2 separate regions of the Homo sapiens genome follow, and region 2 is linked to region 1. The links are contacts of gene promoters, found by promoter capture Hi-C in blood cells and fetal thymus (Javierre and others, 2016). All regions are on one chromosome and are shown on one strand. The core of a region is centred on a gene start or on the middle of the fragment in contact, and the rest is flanking DNA. Distances in the headings are between cores, read along the strand shown. Region 1 holds the start of ZSCAN30 (zinc finger and SCAN domain containing 30). Region 2 has its middle 9.2 kb from the start of MAPRE2.

What was found. The method cuts DNA at HindIII sites, captures the fragments that hold promoters and counts their contacts. A CHiCAGO score of 5 or more calls a contact.
Region 2: a contact is called between a fragment that was not itself captured here and the fragment with the promoter of ZSCAN30 in region 1, in 5 of 17 cell types (fetal thymus, non-activated CD4 T cells, naive CD4 T cells and 2 more). The highest score is 9.9, in fetal thymus.

What each region holds. Positions count from the first base shown.
Region 1 is chr18:35,288,536-35,291,494 of GRCh38, reverse strand. ZSCAN30 (zinc finger and SCAN domain containing 30) reads left to right here and starts at 1,266. Exons shown (of 4, transcript NM_001112734.4): 1 at 1,266-1,411. It also overlaps the pseudogene ZNF271P. RefSeq lists an enhancer at 990-1,149. The HindIII fragment of the contact is 2,453 bases long and covers 370-2,822 here.
Region 2 is chr18:35,030,806-35,033,669 of GRCh38, reverse strand. It overlaps a transcript of MAPRE2 not described here. Among named protein-coding and RNA genes, the nearest start is that of MAPRE2, 9.2 kb to the left of the region's middle. The HindIII fragment of the contact is 1,544 bases long and covers 519-2,062 here.

The DNA of each region.
Region 1 (2,959 bases), core at 17-2,516:
AAACTGACAGATTAGCAATGAGGTCATTATACAGGGAAAAATGAATGACTTTGGGGTCTTAAAAAAGTGGAGAGAGCTGCATGAGAATTTGATCGCCAGATTTTGAAATAAAGTCATGTGACTATGCTTGGTACACTAAAGAGGTAATACTGCCTAACAGAGTTAAGGGGGATCATTTGAAGACACTAGCATAGAGTGACACCCCCTCATCCTCCCCACCCCGCCAAAGCCACTAAGAAAGATATAATACCCTGCCTCTCACCTGACAGAAGGTGGTGTTCCTGAGATTCATAATTGAACTGGATCTCCATGGGCTGCAACTGGACACCTCAGTGTGCAAGTGGAGAATTACCATTTCCTCTGTAAGCTTTTCTTGTCCACATAAAGGTCTGGGACCTGGAGGCAACTGGGCACCACTGGGCTTGGAAGGGAATCATTGTGCTGACTACAGATGTAATCTCTGAGACTAGACCACCAGAAAAATCCTCAAGATATAAAAGAAGGAGAAAACAAAAAATCTCATTTGACTTCCAGTTGCTTTTCTCTCAGAATGTATTAGGCTTCCTCCCCATCATCCAAGAGCCAGGGATTAACCCACTTAAGACACACATTCCCCATTCCAAGTCTAGAGATGTTCAAACAAAATTAGGGGTTAATGCTACCAAAAAAAGGTATAACTGGAAAGATAACGCAGAGAGGGGAATTTTACAGTGAATTCTAGTGGTTAACACTATGTTATTCGCTGCCCTTCCTATCCAAAAATGACACTACTGATCATTTTTCTTCCTTTTGCTTTTACAACATTCACAAATTCAGGTGGCTCTTTCCCAGTACGGTAGGCTGATTCGTATGGATGCACCACGGTTGGTGACTCCCCCCACCCCACAGAGTTTCTGGCGTTCATTCGGTTGAACCCAAGGCCAGCAAGGGCTGACTGGGAACAAACCGAACACTAGGCCGTGAACCAATCGTCTCTCCGTGCCCGGGAGCGACCCCGGGGGCCTTCACTCTCCAAGGACTCGAGAAACCATGCACAGTTTCCTGCTCGTTAGGCAAGATCACCCGGAACTCCTCTGCTATCCGCGAGCCGACATCACCCTTACCTCGACTTGGTCACCGGACCGCTGTGAAGCCTCACACCCGGCGAACCTGCCATCGCCCTGTCCGCTCTAGGAATCTGGGAGGAGTGCTCAGCTCTATGGCGCTTCACCGCGCAGGCGCAGGGCGGGGGTGGGGCACCGGGTGACGGAGGGCTGCCGAGAATTAACCCCCGAACCGCCGCGAGCTGTCCCTAGCAGTGCCTTAGCCAGGGACCTGCTTGGCCAGCGACAGATCCTTTGCTGCTCTGTCTGCCGGTTCTTGAGGTGAATGTCGGAATCCATTATCTTTCGGGAAAGCTCTCTGGGGCAGGGTAGGTTTTCTTACTACATACAAGTTCTTAATTAGTTATCGTTTTTTAAATAACCACCCCTCCCCCTATCGCTTATCTGATTCGTAGGTATGCTTTAATTCTAACTTTCTTCCTGTCCTCTCTGGTTTTTCACACCCCCAGAAGAGTAGCGCGCATCAGAATCACCTGGAGGCCTTGTTAAAATACTGACTTCTGCCCCACAACTCCGGAGTTGCTGATTTAGTAGTGGGGGAGGGGGCGGTGGCAGCCCAGGTTCTCAGGTGATCCTGAAGCTGTTGGTCCTGGGACCACATTTTGAGAACCACTGCCCAAGAAATAAGTGATGCTCAGTAATTAATCCCTGAATTAACGGAAAGTTGGATTTTTATCTACTTTGCAATCTAGAAAGGGTACGAGGTCTATTTAAGGTTTGCTTGCTAGAACAATTCTCACTGATCAGGGTGAGAAGGACCCGAAATGGAGGGTGCGGGGTAATCAGGGTAGGAAAGGATATTGCTGTGTTCATGGAAATATCTTGGGAAATGAGGAGTTGGGACCTCATTTCTGTTGAGACCAATGAGACGTGTGACTTGGTTTAAGCTGTCCGGTGGGGAAAGGAAGAGGTTTGAGAAAATGGTGGGTGGCTAAGTGGTAGTTGAGGTGGAGGAAGAGGGCTTCCTGTCCCAGCCCAAGTCCCTGTTGGGATATATGAAATTTAGGGATGTATGACTAAGCCCTTAATATAACCGTAAGAGGAAAGAGATGTGGGAACTTGAGTCCAACCCTCCCAAGTAGGGAGTGCAGATAGTTTTAAAAAAACAGCTTTCTTTTTGGCCAGGCGCAGCTTAGGCCTGTAATCCTAAAACTTTGGGAGGTTGAGGCAGGTGGATCACCTGAGATCAGGAGTTGGAGACCAGCCTGGCCAACAAGGTGAAACCCTGTCTCTACTACAAATACAAAAATTAGCTGGGCATGGTGGTGTGCGCCTTTAATCCCAGCTACTTGGGAGGCCGAGTCAGGAGAATCGCGTGAACCCATGAACCCAGGAGGCGGAGGTTGCAGTGAGCCGAGATTGCGCCACTGCACTCCAGCCTGGGTGACAAAGCGAGACTTTGTCTCAAAACAAAACAAAACAAAACAAAACAAAACAGCTTTATTGAGGTATAACTGACATAAACAGCAAATATTTAAAGGATATAATTTGATAAGGCTTGTTAAATGAATACAGCTGTGGAACTATCACTGCAATCAAAATAATATGTTTATTACATCTAAACCCCAAAAGTTTCCTCCTGCCCGTTGGTAAGCCTCTCTCCCAATGCCCCCTCCACTGGTCAGCTGTTACTAGAGATTAGTTTGCATTTTCTAGATATTTATTTAAATGGAATCATACAGAATGTCCTTGTTTTTGTCAGAGTTGTTTCACTAAGCTTTTATTTTGAGATTTATCTTTATTGCTGTGTGTATCAATAGTTAATTTTTGTTGCTGAATAATATTCCATTGTATGTATATACCACAGTTTGTTTATCCAATCACCAGTTCATGGGCATTTGGGTTATTCCAGGTTT
Region 2 (2,864 bases), core at 41-2,540, 260 kb after region 1:
TGAGACTTTGCTGAAGTTGCTTATCAGCTTAAGGAGATTTTGGGCTGAGACAATGGGGTTTTCTAGATATACAATCATGTCATCTGCAAACAGGGACAATTTGACTTCCTCTTTTCCTAATTTGAATACCCTTTATTTCCTTCTCCTGCCTAATTGCCCTGGCCAGAACTTCCAACACTATGTTGAATAGGAGTGGTGAGAGAGGGCATCCCTGTCTTGTGCCAGTTTTCAAAGGGAATGCTTCCAGTTTTTGCCCATTCAGTATGATATTGGCTGTGGGTTTGTCATAGATAGCTCTTATTATTTTGAGATACGTCCCATCAATACCTAATTTATTGAGAGTTTTTAGCATGAAGGTTGTTGAATTTTGTCAAAGGCCTTTTCTGCATCTGTTGAGATAATCATGTGGTTTTTGTCTTTGGTTCTGTTTATATGCTAGATTACATTTATTGATTTGCGTATATTGAACCAGCCTTGCATCCCAGGAATGAAGCCCACTTGATCATGGTGGATAAGCTTTTTGATGTGCTGCTGGATTCAGTTTGCCAGTATTTTATTGAGGATTTTTGCATCAATGTTCATCAAGGATATTGGTCTAAAATTCTCTTTTTTGGTGACCACTGCAATTTTTCATAAAAACATGAATTTTATGACTGAAGCAAGATATTCCAGGAAGAGATATACTAAATCAAGGGTGTATCTAACGTATCTGCAACTAATGGGAATCAGCAACTATCTGTACTAAAAAGCTCCCAGCAATACAGGAAGGATATGTTAATTAATGACCAACTGTTAGGCATCAGATGAATTGATCCTACTTTCAGGCCCCTCTTGAGGTCTAGATCCACCAAAAATAAAAAACAAACAAACAAACAAACAAATGTTTAAAGTGCCTGTTTGGAGAGCTGGATTTCTAAAATGGACCCAGAGGATACAGAGCTGGAAGCATGAGAACAGGGAGCCAAAAATAAACAAAAAAACAAAACAAAAAAAAACCCAGGAAGAGGTCCCAGCACACAGGTGCAATTGAGGAAGACTGAACCCTGGCATTAACTCGAATTTTAATTTCGAGTCCCTAGCTTATAGCACAATCATGTTTCTCTTAGAACTTAGGCCAGAGAGTACAAATAATTCTGTATTGACAGAAATCATCATCCCTCCACTTCTCCAACACATATGGTTCATCTAGAACAGGGATTTTTGCATTGCCTTGGACTTGAGAAATTCTCAACTATGATAGCAGAGAAGACATGAATTCCCTAGCCAGGAATGAATGTTAATCTTGACTCAATCCCAGAAACACCTACTCATCACATGAATGCCTTTTTTCAGGTTAAAAATGTGTTCACTGAAGCTGATAATCACTGCTGTCAAAGGCATTCACAGCTGTCACATCACCTTAGATCGGGGCTTCCTTAGATCATTATCACCTCAAATACAGACAGAAGATTCCACTTAGCAGTCACCTCTGCTGGCTCAGGACAAGCCATTTCCCCCATGTGTATATTTTAAGATATTTTCCAGTAGGGAATGGCAGGTACAGTAGTTATCAATGGCTGAAATATATGCTCCACACCCAAAATGATAGCAGTGAAAAAGTATATGGTTGGCCAGCCAGTGGTACCGGCACTGAAATTGCACTGGTGGCACAGAAATGTATTTGAGATTGGTTCTTCCTCACTACCTTTCACCCAGAGGCATAGGAAGATTTTATTAGTTCTTCTGGATCTGGTGAAATTTCCATGACATGCAAATACCTCCTGGCCTTAAGTAATAGCATTTTATTTTAAAAAAAATTGGTGAATAATGTTTTCCTCCAGATGAAGAAAGCCTCTTCAAAACCAACATGCACAGGTATGCTCCTCTAGAATTGACTTTTGAGATTACTTGTCTTTGCAGATTATTTATGCTCAAAAGGCAGAATTTTTAAGTCTCATACTTGCTAGCAAAATAGCAAGGTGTCCATGATGTGAAAACACAGAACATGCCATTGCATGAGACAAGATTTCTCTCTGTGTTGGAATTTATTTCTAATCTGCTTTTTCTTAGATTTTCTCAAGCTTGGATTTAATTTTGTAGAATAACTCATAGAACATGATGTGAATGCAATTTAAAAATACTCAGAGCATTATGATTTCTGTAATCATTCAATCAAATCTGTACAATGTGAGGTTTCAGTCTATTAAACAAAAATGTACTTTTGAATTATACCATCTGGCTAAATTTAAGAGCTTTAAATGTGTTTTCCATAAAAATACAATGTGATAAAAGTTATAATGAAAAGTGTATTAAGTATTAGGAATATAGAAAAGAAAGTAGTCAGGCCTGGGGACACTAGAAAAGCTTCATTAAGATAGTAATATTTTAATTAGTCCTCAATCATTCATTCTACAAATATTTATTGAGAACTTACTATGTGCTAGGAACAATTCTAGACATCAGAGATGCAGAAATTTGTAGACAAAATTCCCTGAACTTACACTTGAGTGTATGAGCAAGTGTATGTGGTAGGGTCAGGAGACAGACAATATATAAGTAAAATATGTAGTGTGTCAGATGGTGGCAAATGCTATAGAGACAACTAAAGCAAGGAAGGAGGACTTGGACTGCAGAGGAAGGGTGTTGTAATTTTAAATGGGGTGACCAGGGTAGACATTCCTGAAAAGATAATCTTTAATCGATGACCTGAGAGAGGTGAGGGACATAGACCTGTGATATCAGAAGAATATTTCAGGTAGAGCCAACAGAAAGTGCAAAGGCCCTGAGGTAGGAGCATGATTTGTTCAAGAAACATTAAGGAAGTCAGGTCACATGTATGTAGCACAGTGAGTGTGAATGTGTGCGTATTGTGGGGATGGGAGAGA